2 separate regions of the Homo sapiens genome follow, and region 2 is linked to region 1. Evidence: promoter capture Hi-C in 16 types of primary human blood cells and fetal thymus (Javierre and others, 2016). All regions are on one chromosome and are shown on one strand. The core of a region is centred on a gene start or on the middle of the fragment in contact, and the rest is flanking DNA. Distances in the headings are between cores, read along the strand shown. Region 1 holds the start of BTBD9-AS1 (BTBD9 antisense RNA 1). Region 2 overlaps BTBD9 (BTB domain containing 9).

Region 1 (7,633 bases), core at 2,302-4,801:
ATCTACTCCTGGTGAAGATGCAGTGAATATTGTTGAAATGGTAGATTCTAGAACAAAAGATTTAGGCTGTCACACAAACTTAGTTGATAAAGCAGTAGTAGGGTTTGAGAGGATTGACCTCAATTTTGAAAGAAGGTCTACTATTGGTAAAAATGCTGTCAAACAGCATCGTATGCTACAGATAAATCTTTCATGAAAGAAGAGTCAATAGATGCAGCAGACTTCATCATTGTCTTACTTTAAGAAATTGTCACAGCCACCCCAGCCTTCAGCAACCACCACCCTGATCAGTCAGCAGCTATCAACATTGAGGCGTGATCCTCCACCAGCAAAAAGGTTATGACTCACTTGAGACTCAGATGATTGTTAACATTTTTTAGCAATAAAGTATGTTTTAATTAATAATCTGTACTTTTTTTGGACATAATGCTGTTGCACACTTAATAGGCTACCATACAGTGTAAACGTAATTTTTATATGCACTGAGAAACCAAAAGATTTGTGTGGCTTGCTTTATTGTGTGGTCATAAACTGAACCCATGACATCTCCCAGCTATCCCTGTACCTGTCTCATAGGGTTGCTACAAATGTCAAAGGAGATCAGGCTTGTAAAACAGCCTTAGCAGAGGTCTTGGTACAAAGGAAGCACTCAGTTGATAAAGGATTACTGTTATCTCTTTTTGTTTTAAAAAGATATCCAGTATTCTTCTTCAGGAACTGATTATAATCTCAAATAGTAGTCAGTCCCAGGAAGTGTTTTTATAAATCTAACCCACATTTTATCTACTCTAGAACTTTTGCCCATCTGCTGAACCTTTAATCCATTTCTTTTTATTTAATCCTCATTAGACATTTAAAAAACAACTAATGATTACCCCTGAAGAATAAAAATATAACACTTCCTTAGTAATTCTAGTTCTAGTTTCATAGGTCTGATTTCCCTGTGCACTAGTTATTATGTCTCACCTTTATGCTTCTGTGCATGTCTACAGTTGAAGAGCAAAGAGCTGAACACAGGATTCTAAACAAGGATTTCATCGTCATTTCATTTATCCATTGAGTAAAATGTTTACGGAGCACCCACAATATACTAAACACTGTGCCTGGAAGTAGACATATAGCAGTAAACGAGATTAAGTTGTTGCTTAACGCAGTTTACATTGTAGTAGGAGAGAGAGAAAAATGAGATGTAAAGAAATAAATGTGATACTGACTAGTCATAGTTTGACAAAATTGGAATGGGGGAATAAGCTAGCCAGTGGTTGAGTTTGGGGAAGGAGCACTTGAGCAGAACGGTCAGGGAAGGCCTTTCTGAGGAAGTGAGTTGAGCCAAAACTTGAATTACAAGAAGTTGGCTTGGCTATGCAGCAATCTAAGGGAGAAGTGTTCCAGGCTAGGGAACAGCAAGAGTAAAGGCTGTGAAGTAGAAACTAGCTTGGGGTTTTTGAGGAACAGAAAGAAGGCCATGTGTTTCTGAAATCTGGTGGGTAGATAGTCTGTAGGGTGTTGGGAGGAAGGTATGTTTAGCAATGAGGGCAGACAGATAGACAGGAGCCATGTCCTACAGGGACTTGATAGTGTCGAATTCTAAGGATGATGGGAAACCATAGAAGGGTTTAAACCAGGTGATGGTAGTTGAGATTTTTGAAAGATAACTCTAGTGTGATCTAGTGTGAGAATGGACTATAGGGAAGACCAGACAGCAGGTGGGCAAGGAAAAGTGAATACAAGAGACTGGGAAGGAGCTGCCAGTGAGGCAGGAAGAAAACAAGGACAACATTTTCATGGAAGTCTTAAAAAGTCAGTCTTTCGGTATGAGGAGGGGAGATGGGAGAGGGCAGTAGGTAACAGAAAATCGACTCCTGGTTGTAGCAAGATAGAGCTTAGTGGCGTCCTTTAAGAGCCATTTCAGTGGAGTCAAGGGAGAAGGGAATAGAGGCTGAGGGAATAGGGGTAGCAATACATGTAGAAGATAAAGTATCACTGGGAGGGGAAGCAGAGAAATGATGAAGAGGATGGAGGGGGACCTAGGGTCAAGGGAGGATGATGTTAAGGTATGTGTGTGTGTGGACTGGAATGATACCACAGGGAGGGAGGATTTGATAATGCAGGAGAGTGGATCTTTGTAGGGGCCGTGTACCTCATTATGGGAGAGGGGCTGGATCTCTAGCTCAAGGAGAAGATTGACTTTAGGTAGAATTGAGGTTCCTTCTTTTCCTGTAACAGGAGGAAAGGCAGAGTATGTAGAATAGATGTACCCAGATTGAAAGAGGCAAAAATGGAAGCCTTACCTTCATGTTGACAGTGCTTGTGCCTTGGTGGGTCTTTGTGGTATATCATGGCCTCAAGCTCTGTTTTTGCAGGTCCACTGAGTTATTTGTGCTATATATATTCTTTTCCTACCCAGGCCATCTATCTCAGATACAGATCTGTTTACATGTCTGTCTCCCCCACTAAACTGGCATCTCTTCAACAAGAGTAGTTATCTTTGTATCTCCAGACATAGCTCAGTGTTTGGCAAGAACTGAGTTGAAGGAATGACAGCTACATCAGTAGAAAGGACTCATATAACAGCTACACAAACATGCGGTAGAAAGGAAAGTAATTCAAGAGCATGAATAAAATTAAGTGTTTATATCTTAGAATAATTAATATGATTTCTCTCTTTTAAGTGGAATACATTGTTACTGAACACCAGAATTGAGGGGTAGCTAAAAGTAAAAAAAAAAAAAAAAGAAAGAGAAAGGATCACCTCACACCTCACTACCATCTGGAAAGAAGATGAGCTTTTAACAGCCCCTTTCAGTAGGGACGAGTTAGTGCCTGGCATGCTTTGGTGGGAAGCACATTTCTAGGTTCAGGAGAAAGTGAGAATCAAACGTGTCTGGGAAAAGGAGATCCCAGTGTGATCAGCTTGCTTGTGGAAGATTAGCAGGGGTTGGGGGCGTAGAGGGCTTCGGGCAAGAGTAAATGTTAATGAGAGATGGCTTAAGCAGACTTGTGCCCAAACGAGTGAGAACAATTTGACAGGAAGTTCAGTTGAGCATGTGTAGCACTTCTCCAAATGCTTTCTTCTTGGACTGGGAAGAAACACAACAAAACAAAATAGTTACTTTCCCCTTCAACATTATACAGCACATCCTAAATGAAACATGACTTTCTGAGTTACAAGCTGCCCCTGGCAAAAAGGCTGGTTATAATCTCAGTGTGTTCCCTGAAACTAATGTTCCTTGGGCACTCCAGATTTGTGTGACGTACTGTAAGTTATATCCAACTGAACTGTTCTTTTAACTGCCTGCATTAAGCATCATCAAATAAGTTGCGCTGAAAGGAACCACCTGAATAAAGAAGCTTTTATACCTTTGTAAGTCCTCACTGCATGACCCTAGGTCACTGCTGTTGAACTTGGGAGCTTTCTCTCCCACTTTTCACTCTCTTGCCTTTAATGGATGGGGGTCTCCACACCAGGTTTTCTTTCTCTCTCATCTGCCAGGTGCTAGCAAATGGTGCTGCCAGCCTCATTAGGGGAGAGGGGGTAGTGTGGAGGCAGGCACTGGCCCCTCCCTCATGTGCCCCGCTTCCCAGAGGCCTATGGGATACCAACTGAAAAGAGGTCGTGAGCAGAGCTGCTCACCCTGGAATTCATTTTCTCTAGACTCATTAAAATGCTGCCTTCCTATCTCCCTTGGATTTTTACTTTTCAAAACACTTTACGATGTGCGGCCTCATTTTATTTTACATTAAGCTGACAACCTAACATCTCACCAAGTATCAACTGGGAATACAATTTTGCACTCACTGTGCTGTGCCATCTTGCCAAGTTTTGTCTTTGTTACTCAGCTCTCATTCAGAAAGGAATTAATTTGAATTATATGATGCTATGGTTGTCTCCTTGAAGAAGGGCTAGATTCCTGCACACCTTGGGAAAGTATCTATCTGTGAATGTACTTGAATCTTCCAGGTTATATGCCATTCTTCTCTCTTCTTTCCCTTTCACATCATCATGGGCTCCTCTCACGTTAGAATAAACCTTTCTGTTTTGCCTCTCCCTACTCAATGGGATTTCCATTGTTTCTGTCTTCACTTCCTTTTACCTGGGAGAAGCTGATACTGATGGAAAGGCATTTTTGAGTCTAGATATAAAGCTCTTTGTTTAAAGAGCATTTTTAAAAGAAGGGAATTTTTACATTGCCAAAGGTACCCAGGTGTTGCCTTCCTTCCCCATGAGGATTTTGCACAGAGCGCACATTCATACCCACTATCTCTTAGTGTCAGCCTGTGTGATGGCTATATGCTGTCTACCAACACTACAGTCTGTTTGGGAAGCGCCAAATCTTGGGTAGGCACTGGATCTAAAACTGGCACTGGAATCATCCACTCAGAGGAAGAAAGATTGAGGTCAGGTGGGGAATAAGACAGGCAAGTTGTCAGGCTTCTTTTCAGATGGTTCTCAGAGTACACTTCCATTACTTAGAACAGTGGGTTTGGTGGGGGGTTTTGGCGTGTTCTATAGCTGAGCTACAAGCAAAATTAGAGCTTTTTACTTATATACTACTTTGCATGGAGGTAGTCTCAGGGTCCCAGTTACAGCACTGATTTCTTGAAAAGAGTTTGATGTTCTGGCCCATGCTTAATTTAAATGAGAGGCTAAAAGCAGATTGTGTAACCCACCAATGCCCATTTGACAGGACTTGCACCAATCTGACCTACACTTTCATAAGAGCTCCTAAGCAGAGTGCTGTACTGTGGGTCTTCTGCCTTAACTCCAGGAATGGCAGAGATGAGCTACTGTTTATTGAGCACCGACAAAGGAGAGGTACTCTGAGTGTTGAATGCATGCTGTCTCTCAGCCCACAAGAGCCCTGCAAAGGAAGTGCATTGCTCCCCGTATTTATGGATGAGGAAGCTGAGTATCAAGAAGCTTGCTCAGAATCATGCAGCTAGCAAGGAGCAAGGCAGGGTTTCAGAGCTACGTTTATCTGTTTCCAAAGAGTACACTCTCCCCTCAATTCCCAGTAGTACTTCTCCAGTAAATCTTAAGTATTGTATTGCTTTTTTCCCTTCTATTTCTCTTAGCAGTCTATAGAAAAGAGCGTTTATTTAAAGATTTTAGTGCTCATCTGGGCATAGTGACTCATGCCTGTAATCTCCACACCTTGGGAGGCCGAGGCAGGAGGATCGCTTGAGCCCAGGAGTTCCAGACCAGCCTGGGCAACATGACGGAACCCTTTCTCTACCAAAAATACAAAAGTTAGCTGGGCATGGTGGTGCACACCTGTAGTCCCAGCTACTCAGGAGGCTGAGGCAGCGGGATTGCTTGAGCCCGAGAGGTGGAGGTTGCAGTGAGCCGAGATCACGCCACTGCACTCTAGCCTGGGCGACAGAGCCAGATCCTGTCTTTTAAAAATAAAAATAAAAATAAAAAAAGATTTTAGTGCCCCCTATAACTTGAGGCTTGGATTCTGAAGTGAAAGTTGTTGTTCTGAGAGGTGTTGATTGAGCAGTAGTAATACCAACTACATCAGTGGGACTTGGTGGCCCAGTCACACGGATGCAGTCAGAAAGGGAGTGTTACCTCATAAAGCAGTGATTCAAGCCTGGGCTTGGATTTTAAAATGTTGGAAAGTTGTGAAGAAATGGGATTTTTTTTTTCTTCCAAAGATTGTAATAACTTTGCCATTGTACCATTAACATAGTCACCACCTCATGTTTGTCATGTAACCAATTTATGTTTTTACTAACATTGAGGAAATGATTTTTTTTATGCTTCCTCCTTTCTATCTTTCAATTTTTTCCCATCTACACTGTGTGGATTATCAGATAAACAGGAAGGTCAGTGCTCGCTTAACCAGGGTTTGGCCAGTGCTCAGTGGGTGGGAAGCCGTCGGGAGAGGAGCTGGAGGGGTTGTGTGTCTGAACCCCTGTGCTCCACATTGGGCGCCTGTCAGGTTCCACTGACTTTTCATTGTATATTTGGAAACTCTTTCATAGCCAGAGCAAAGCCCAGGGAAATCTCTCCTCCTGTGGTGTTGGTCGCGTTCTTGTAGTTTCCATTTGATAACAGCATAGTTTACAGAGAACTTTTTGAGCTTTTGGAGAACTCCTGAGACTTATTTTGTCTTTGCCTGCAGCCAAAATAATTGAAGCATTGTCAGTCTATTTCAGCAGCACTTCTTCAGGTAGACTGTGATACTATTTGGGATGTTCAGATAGACCAAAGAGAACACAGATTGTAGCTCCTCCTGGAGCTATAATCCTGGTTTTATATATGATAAAAGTGAAATGGAATTTTAGCTCACAAGACATACCAAGGCGACTTGGTCATTATATAGTAGCAGCCTCGCTTATAATTTCCAGAGTTTCCTCTGAGTTTTAATCTGGCATTTGTTTCTTCCCTTCTCCAAGGAAAACAGGAGTTCTTAGCTCTTCCCTGTAGCTTCTGAAATAAATTCACACAGAATTTGAAGGCAAGTGAAGTAGGTCAGAATCCTTCCGGAAGCCAAGAACCCACTTATCTTCCCTCCTTTAGTTTTCTGTTTTGTCTGCCCATGCACATTTCCTCTTAGGTCCTCTAAGGAGAGTATGGGAAGAAAGGGAGTCAAATTCAATGATGCAGAAAGGGTCAGAGAAAGTGGTTGTAGATGACTGATGAGATTTGACACCATCCTCACTGCCGGCCATGTAATTCTCTAAAAAAAATAGGAGACAAGATAGAGATAGTCAAATCATACTAATAAACTATTTTTCAAGCATCCACATGCCCAGAGATGCTTAAAAGACCAGTAAATGGATGTGTCAGATGATATATATGAGTAAGCTAATATGATAGTCAAAATCAATAAAATAAAACCAAAATATTTTAAAGGTGGCAAAGCTCATGAGAGCCCAGTACTCAGAAATATATAACCTTCCTTTGCACATGTTTCTCCTCACATATATACGCACGTAATCAGAGACTGGTGGTAAAATTTTTAAACTTCTGACCCCCTCCCCCTTCCTGGTAGGAAGCAGTTGAGGGAAAAGAGAGGAAACAGCATGTATTGACCACATGCTGCTTCCTCTTAGGCACTCACACATGCTTTTTGTCTTACCTAATCCTGTATAACATCCCTGTGGCAGCAGGGGTATTCTCATTCTTACAGATGAAGAAATTGAAGCCCAGAGAGGTTGCACCGTTTTTAAAAAGTGATGGGGCCAGATTTCAAAAACGGGTTCACCTGACTCTAAAGACCTTGTGTGAATTGTCTTTCCACTAAACCATGCTGCCTCACCACAGAGCCACTGATGGCTTTACTTGATGTGTTCGTGGCATCGTTGCTCAGTTTGAGTTAAGTGAGTAATTCTTAAATGACTCGAGGATAAGAAGACCTCCTGTAGAGGCTTTACAAATTCAAATACCCCCAGTTCGTATTGCTTTCATCCTCGCTTTCTTAACTATAATCAGCATTGATTCTTTCCTATTCCCTGATAGCATTAAGTTATGATAACACTAGGGTGACAGAAAATAAAATCAGCAAATATAGATACTGCTCGTTAGCTCAGTAAAATGTGAGAATTGGCAATAAAGTAGGTCTTATCTAAAAGGTATGGATATAAATACAAAGCACAGGATTAGAAGCATTTCAGATAAAGA
Region 2 (7,633 bases), core at 1,300-3,799, 240 kb after region 1:
TATTAATACATTGTGAAGGAAAATTCTGAGGAGACAGGAAGACATTTCTTCTATGAAGGAACTTACAGGTTATACAGAACATTTGGGAACCATCTTGTTTGTGTACACACACACATATGCACACACAGTGTAAAATACAAAACAAGATCCTAGAATCAAACAATACTGTAACTGGTAGAAGTACCTTGGAAATCATAGCCCAAGCCTCCCATTTTACAGATGAGACAGCAGTCACAGGTGCCTTTCCCAAGTTCTCATCTAATGGCAAGCCCTGGATTAGAACTCAGGTCTCCTGATTCTGAGTCCCTTTTTCCCAGAATTTTGCATGGCCTATAAGACCACAGTAAACATGAAAAATCAGATATGTAAGTACTGTAAGTATATAAACATTATCAGAGTATGGGATGGAGTTAGGGAAATTTTTCTGAAAAGATGCATTTTGAGCCTACCCATCTGCTACTGGCTCATGTTGTGCCTGGGACGACTGGTGATTTCCCAACCCAAGGAGGCTATGAACTTCAGATTTTAAAATCACATAAAGGTACAAGTCAACTATCCACCTTCCAGAAGTATGATGAAGACTATGGATACAAAGAAATCCACCTTTATTTTTATATGATTCCCTACCTTGCTGTCAGTACTACTTCCACAGAATATTAATTTGTCCAGCCTATTAGCTGTATCATAATTCATACTTTAAAATTGGTTTTAAAAGTATAGCTTCTACACCAGTGGTCAAATCTAGATTATCTAGGGGTTCATTATTCAGGTTGTAGAGTATATTAGCCTGTTTTTCTTCCCTTTTCCTTCCTATTGCCTACTTAAAAAAAATCATTACACTGTTCATTAGGCCATTTATTAGACTGTTTCCTTCCACGAAAAGAGACTTGCATGTGTGGTTTTTTTCCCTCTGTTTTAAGCCAAGCTCTATAAAGCATATTTTCCCCACAGTTGACATTTTCTTTTCACCATCCCTTGAAATGGAATGTAAGTGAATTTCACCGTGGTGTTATAAATTATGTACTGAGTATCAGTAATAAACATTTCTTACAAAGTTCTAAAGTATAGTTTCAGAGTGGTGATCATCTGGAATTGCACACATTTACCAGCTGCTTTGGAGGGAGTTTGCGAGTGCTTTCTGCTCATACACTTTTCACTTCTTTATCCAAATTTATACAACAGTATGGAGCCCATGTAATAAACCTAAATGGAGCAAAAGAATGTTTGTATTCCTAGTAATGTGGCTTAGCAATCTTGACCTGATGAGTGGTCATCTTGTTCGGCCTTCTACCTTGAGGCAATGTTGCACATTAAATTTGTCCCAGAGAGTTCGTGGTTTTCCTCAGATGAGGAAGACTGGATAATACTGCTTGCTTCCTCATCTGCGGTTCTCAGAGCCTTAGTGTAAATTTCTGCTGTGAGGTGATTCTTAGGCAAAGGAAGATAGCATATGTTGGTACTGCTCTATTAGAGGAGAGAACTTGTTTATATCGTTCTTTTTTCCTTCCTGATTCTCTGGAGAGTTACTGAATTCTCTGTAGGATTTAGCAGTGGACATATAAGCTTAATAGAAATTCTGATGCTGGAGCTTTGAAATGTATAGTCTTTTCTTTAGGGTATGCTGAGGGTGGGAGAAGGAGGGGCTCCTGGAAGCTTGTTTGTTTGTTTCACATTTCTGAATCTTCAGAATTCATTTTTCCTAATTAAGATCAAAACCCAAATCTACATTAATCTAGTGTCAGGGTCACAGATTTAAACCAACAGGACTTCAGAGTTGGTGTTCTCGGAGCACCACTGAGCCCCTCCTATCACAGCCTCTGCCCGTTTGAGCGTGGATCTGGTAGGCTAATTGAAAGCCTCAATTGCCCTGTGAAGACAGAGCCACAATAACATTAAGAAGTAATCAAGTTTTTAGTTAGACATGGCACGTACTGTGAATCTACAATTCCAAATGCCTTCATTTTTGAATTTCTAGTCTGATTTTCAAATTTATGCCTTCACATTGCTTTAATATGGTGTTCTTACATTAATATTAATTAACTTTATGAATTTCTGAGGAGATGAGAAGGGAACACAGGGCACAATTTTCTAAGCTTTTCATTTTGGGGGATAGAACCACTGATATTTTCAGGCAGTATTTTCTTCTTTTGCCATTTCCTTAATTAAAATTATCATTCAAATACTATTGAATCATTTCCCTGCCAGGAACCCTAAACTGTAGGGCATGGGCTTATGTTAACTCAAAAGTCTGATATTTATCTAGGCATTAATTTAGTGGACATATTTTGAGCCACTGCTTTAGGTCAGGCTCTGTGCTGGGCACTTCCCTCCTCTCATGGGCTCACTAATTAAGCCTTCCCAATTGGCTCAGGACCAGCTGAGACTGAGGGGCCTTGATCCCAATGCAAATAGAGGCATTTGTGGATTCTGACACATGGAGTTAGACCAAATCTTCTCTGAGTGACTCAGTAGGGATAACATTTATGGGAGTAGGCAGCATGCTAAATCTGGAAGTACTTACTACCTAGATGGAATGGGCCTGGCCTTGGTGGATACAAGAAAATCACTCGTTCTCTCTTCAGCCTGCTGGAGGGAAGTTCAGGTGTGCCTTGAGCTCAGATCTTCCCAGAGATGGCAGGATAGCAGCCTTGCACGCTCAGCCAGTCCACTCCTTTGTTACCTTTTGTATTGCCAACAATAACCTTGGCTATCGGGAGGCTTAGTAAATTGACCGTGTTTTGTTGCACTCCTGTGCCAGTGCCAGGCTGCTCTTTCTGATAAGGTAAGTGTGACGTTCAGTTTGTGATGAGCACTTGCAGTTTCTGTAAATGTAATACTATATAATAAGCAGTAATTTTCCACTGACCCTTGAAAACAGGAAGTTTCTGTTTGGCTTTTAGTGACAGCCAAAATGTAGGTGTTTTCTCCCTCCACCAATATGATGAATTTCCAGAGGCATCTTTTTTCACAAGATAGATTATTAGCAAGTTGTTTCCTAAGCTTGACCAAAATGTGTCATGGTTAATCTTGCCTTAAAAAAGTCAAAGTCAAGTATATTGGCTCCAGAGTAGCCATTTATAATAAAATGACTATATACATTCTTAAGCTCCTTTTAGCTGTCTCCTGGCTGTGCTTTTTACTCAAGGGTTTGGTATCCTGAAGCTTAGCCCAGTAGCTTGGGTGATAAAACTGCCATGTCTCAGGTTATTGTTTTAAATTTCCTATAAGAGATTATATCTTTTTTTTTTTTTTTTTTTTTTGAGACAGAGTCTTGCTCTGTCGCCAGGCTACAATGCAGTGGCACGATCTTGGCTCACTGCAACCTCCACATCCCAGGTTCAAGCAGTTCTCCTGCCTCAGCCTCCCAAGTAGCTGGGACTGCAGACGTGCGCCACCACGCCCAGCTAATTTTTGTGTTTTTAGTAGAGACAGGGTTTCACCATGTTGGCCAGGATGGTCTCGATCTCTTGACCTCGTGATCTGTCCACCTCGGCCTCCCAAAGTGCTGGGATTACAGGGATTATGGGCATGAGCCACCGCTCCTGGCCAAGAGATTATATCTGAAGTGTAAAGTGAACTTGCACTAGATGACTTGGTGTCCTTTCCTGAGAGAGGAAGAGGGCCTTTTATGTTCTGTACTCTTCTCCCGAGTCCCACCCCATTAAGATTGAATGGAGTAACCATCCAAATGGACCCCTTCTTTCAGCCAAGGGCATTAGAAAGTTAGCCTGAAAAACTTGTTCAGGCCATGATGGAAGCAGGGGTCGGACATGTCTCATTATACCCTCTTCCCTTTTAGAATTCAGGGAAAGCTGACCAGCATTAACATCAACACAGATCTCAAGTCTGATAAGAAACATTTACAGTCTATTCTGTCTGAAACCTACTACTTGGAGGCTTCACCTGCATGATAAAACATTGGTCTCGGCCAGGCGCGGTGGCTCACGCCTGTAATCCTGGCACTTTGGGAGGCCGAGGTGGGCGGATCAACAGGTCAGGAAATCGAGACCATCCTGGATAACACGGTGAAACCCCGTCTCTACTAAAAATACAAAAAAATTAGCTGGGCGTGGTGGTGGGCGCCTGTAGTCCCAGCTACTCGGGAGGCTGAGGCAGGACAATGGTGTGAACCCGGGAGGTGGAGCTTGCAGTGAGCCGAGATCGTGCCACTGCACTCCAGCCTGGGCGACAGAGCGAGACTCCGTCTCAAAAAAAAAAAAACAAAAAACCTTGGTCTCCGCAACAGCTTACTGTAAAGCATACATTCCTTTCTGTTGATAATAACTCTCAACCAATTGCCAATCAGAAAATTTTTAATGACCTGGAAGCACCCGTCCTTGAGTTGCCCTACCCTTCCAGGTGGAACCAATGTAAATCTTACATGTATTTGATTGACGTCTCACGTCTCCCTAAAATGTATAAAACTAGGCTGTGCCCCAAATGACCACCTTGAGCACTTGTTCTCAGGACCTCCTGAGGGTTGTATCACAGGCCATTGGTCACTCATATTTGGCTCAGAATCAATTTCTTCAAATTTTTTGTTTAAAAAAGATTGAATGAGGTGCTTGCTGATTTTGTTTTGTTTTTTAAGAGACAAAGTCCTGCTCTGTCACCTAGGCTTCTAAACCTAGCCTCCGGCAATCCTCCTGCTTCCATCTCCCAGGTAGCTGGGACTATAGGCACATGCCACCACCATGCCCAACTAATTTTTCTATTTTTTTTAAATAGAGACAGGGACTCTCTTTATTGCCCAGGCTGGTCTCGAACTCCTGGCCTCAAGCAGTCTTTTTGCCTCAGCCTCCCAAAGTGCTGGGAGTAGAGGCATGAGCTACCATATCTGGCTGATTTTTTTTTTTTAAAACATTGGAAAATACCATTGAAAAGGAAACAGACAAATGCTTTACATTGTAACCCTCCCCACCTCTCTTTAAAGTCATCTGTTTATTTTTTCTTGACACTTGAAATACCATAAGATTCAGCACTTTTTTGTAAGGAATTAAGATTGTTTTTTCATCAGATTATCTTTTCTTCTTTCTGAGATATAGCTGGCATTATCTATTCATTCATTAGTTTCTGTAGGCATCTTGGTAACCATTTACTCCTATCAGATGGCTTAAGCAAGACCAGAAACTGTTGATTTTGTGATATCATGTGATTTTATGAATCATGTTGATGGGAGCCCTGGTACTTCCATGATCACCGGGGACTGCCATTTATCTCCACACAGGTGGCCTTCCTGGTACTTTGGTGCATCTGACTTGCTAAAACCAGGATATTAGTGAATGGTGGCAACTAACATGCAGGAGTTGTTTGAACTGACCTTACATTTAAGAAATTATTTTGCCCTTTTGGCACAAAAAGTTGGATTTGTTGATCAGAATGATAGATCCCCTCTCTATGTGGAGCTCTGTGTGGAGTTAGGGAGAAAAGAAAAGATAGACTACTTGCCTGTAGTCTGATTTGAAAACAACATACACCTCAAAAAGACTCTCCAATACACTGACTCTTCCTAAGTGTCACCTACAAAGCAAACTGAAGTTGAATGATTGTTTGCTTTCCGTGTCTGCTTAAAAATTTGTCCAAATCACAGACAAGTGTGCAATTTATGAAGACAAAACTAAAAAGCAAGTGAGTTGCACCTTTACAGAGTTCAGCTACTGAGCAGTGAGGTGTAGGAAAAGTGTGTGTTTGGCCTGAGATCAGGCTTCCCCTGGGCCCCTTTTGCAGTGATGCTCAGGGAAAATGCATCCTGTTCATTTGGCACAGCCATCTCTCATCTCACAGTTCTTTGTTTCCCAGATCTGAACCTGGACACAACATTCAATGACTGTGGGTTTGGGGAGCTATTGTTTTCTTCCTCCCACTGTGCCTTCCATTGAAATTTTTATTCTGCATGCGGAACTGAATCCACTCTGCACATGAAATGCACTGACCCAGGTGGAAGCAGATTTTTAATCAAATGTCATTAGAACAATCCATTTGCTGCAGAAATCTCTGGAGTCCTCATATTACTGTGCCCACATTTTCCAGTTGTTTACTGGGATTTGATTTCTAGCCCAGCATGTTTCTTTGGGATTTACTTAGATTGGCTGAATTAAATTAGGATTTATAGTTCTTGTGACCCTTTTACTTAGGAATTTTATATGGAGATATCCCCCATTACAGACCTGCGTGTGTTGGCTAACTGTCGTAATCCAAATGAGTCTTTCCTTCAAAACAGAAGTGGTTTCCCCTTCACTGGGTTTGTGCTTTGTTCTTTAGCCTCTGTTAGGATGTTGGCTATTTGGATTTCAGGTTTGGGGATGGTTTGAAATGATGTCACAGACCAGTAGTCTTTAGAAATGTCTAGGTCATATGATTTGTTAATTTTACTACAAATGAAAAGTAAAGTGGGAAATGGGAGCTCTGGAGAACTGAGAATTGTGGTTTCAGAGAGGACCTAAAATCTATAGTAGTGTTGCTAGTTCCTGGTCTCCATTGTATTTGGAAAAGGGGATGAAGAGGAGAAACGCATCTAAAAGAGGGTATGGAAAAGTAGTGTCAAAGCTGTTGCTGTTTTTATTATTTCTTAAGTGAGGCATTCCTTTCCTACATAAGAACATCTAACTTATGTTTTCTTGAAAAATAAGAGTTCTGGCTGTAAAGAGATCCAGAGTCTCAGTTTCCCGACTCTGATGTCCTGTCCCATACGCAGCCCTGTTTTCCCAGCTGATAAAGCCTACCCTTTCTACCTCGGGCCAGGGGTCTTTCATTGTCACTATGCCCAAGGGGTCTGTGCACACAACTGTACTTCAGTAACATTGGTTTCTTGTGTGTTCTATTTTATACATTTGAAAACATTCTGAGAAGGGATTCATATGCTTCACAGAGTGCCAGAGAGATCCCTGGCACAAAAAAGGGAAGATCCAAGGGTCAGCTGAATACTCACATATGAAAACCTTTGAGTAAAGCAGACATTTCAATGAAAATAGGAAGTGTCAGTTACAGATATCTCTGTTACTGTGTTATTGTGTCATTCCTTTACCTGATTTCTGTTGGTCTCCTGTGACCTTTTCCATCTGGTGTGCACCCTACATTTGGGGCCATGAGCTGCTAAGATGAGCACGTCAAGCTCATCTTTGTCACTGACCCCTCCCTATCTTAAACCTTGAAATATGGTGATCTCATTTGTTAAACTTCAGCCAGTGGTACTGGGAGCCAGATGGAGTTTGCAGCAAAACCTGAGCCCTCCTCACTAGCTCAGGTTTCAGAATCATTTCCCTCTTTGTAGCTCTGTTTGCATGTCAGCCCTGAAGGTTGGTTCTAAAAGATTGAGTCTGGGAAATGTGACCAGCCCTTGGCTTTCCTTTAGTCCTTGCTCTGACCCTCCAGTCTTGACTACCTTCTCTCAAGACTCCCATTTTACTGATAAGAAAATGCAGTGTCTACCTGCAGGAAACGTATGCAGACCTTTCTTCACTCATTCAACCCCTTTTTATCAAGTACCTACTATGAGTTCAGTACTGTGGCAGGCAAAAATCTGCCTGACCACAAAATTAAAGAGCCCACGGTGATTGGTGATTGTCAGAGTGTAAAGTGCAGGCTCGCTGTGGAACAAGAGCTGCAAACCTCCTGTGGTTTAGCAGTTACTGTG

The links. The method cuts DNA at HindIII sites, captures the fragments that hold promoters and counts their contacts. A CHiCAGO score of 5 or more calls a contact.
Region 2: a contact is called between a fragment that was not itself captured here and the fragment with the promoter of BTBD9-AS1 in region 1, in 2 of 17 cell types (endothelial precursors and M1 macrophages). The highest score is 5.3, in endothelial precursors.

What each region holds. Positions count from the first base shown.
Region 1 is chr6:38,477,514-38,485,146 of GRCh38, reverse strand. BTBD9-AS1 (BTBD9 antisense RNA 1) reads right to left here and starts at 3,551. Exons shown (of 2, transcript NR_144472.1): 1 at 3,361-3,551; 2 at 2,620-3,080. The region is part of intron 6 of BTBD9 (BTB domain containing 9); the gene reads left to right. RefSeq lists an enhancer at 7,238-7,633. The HindIII fragment of the contact is 1,570 bases long and covers 3,354-4,923 here.
Region 2 is chr6:38,235,066-38,242,698 of GRCh38, reverse strand. All of the region lies in intron 9 of BTBD9 (BTB domain containing 9), which reads left to right. LOC105375045 (a long non-coding RNA gene) reads right to left here and starts at 398. Exons shown (of 2, transcript XR_926772.4): 1 at 1-398. The HindIII fragment of the contact is 907 bases long and covers 2,096-3,002 here.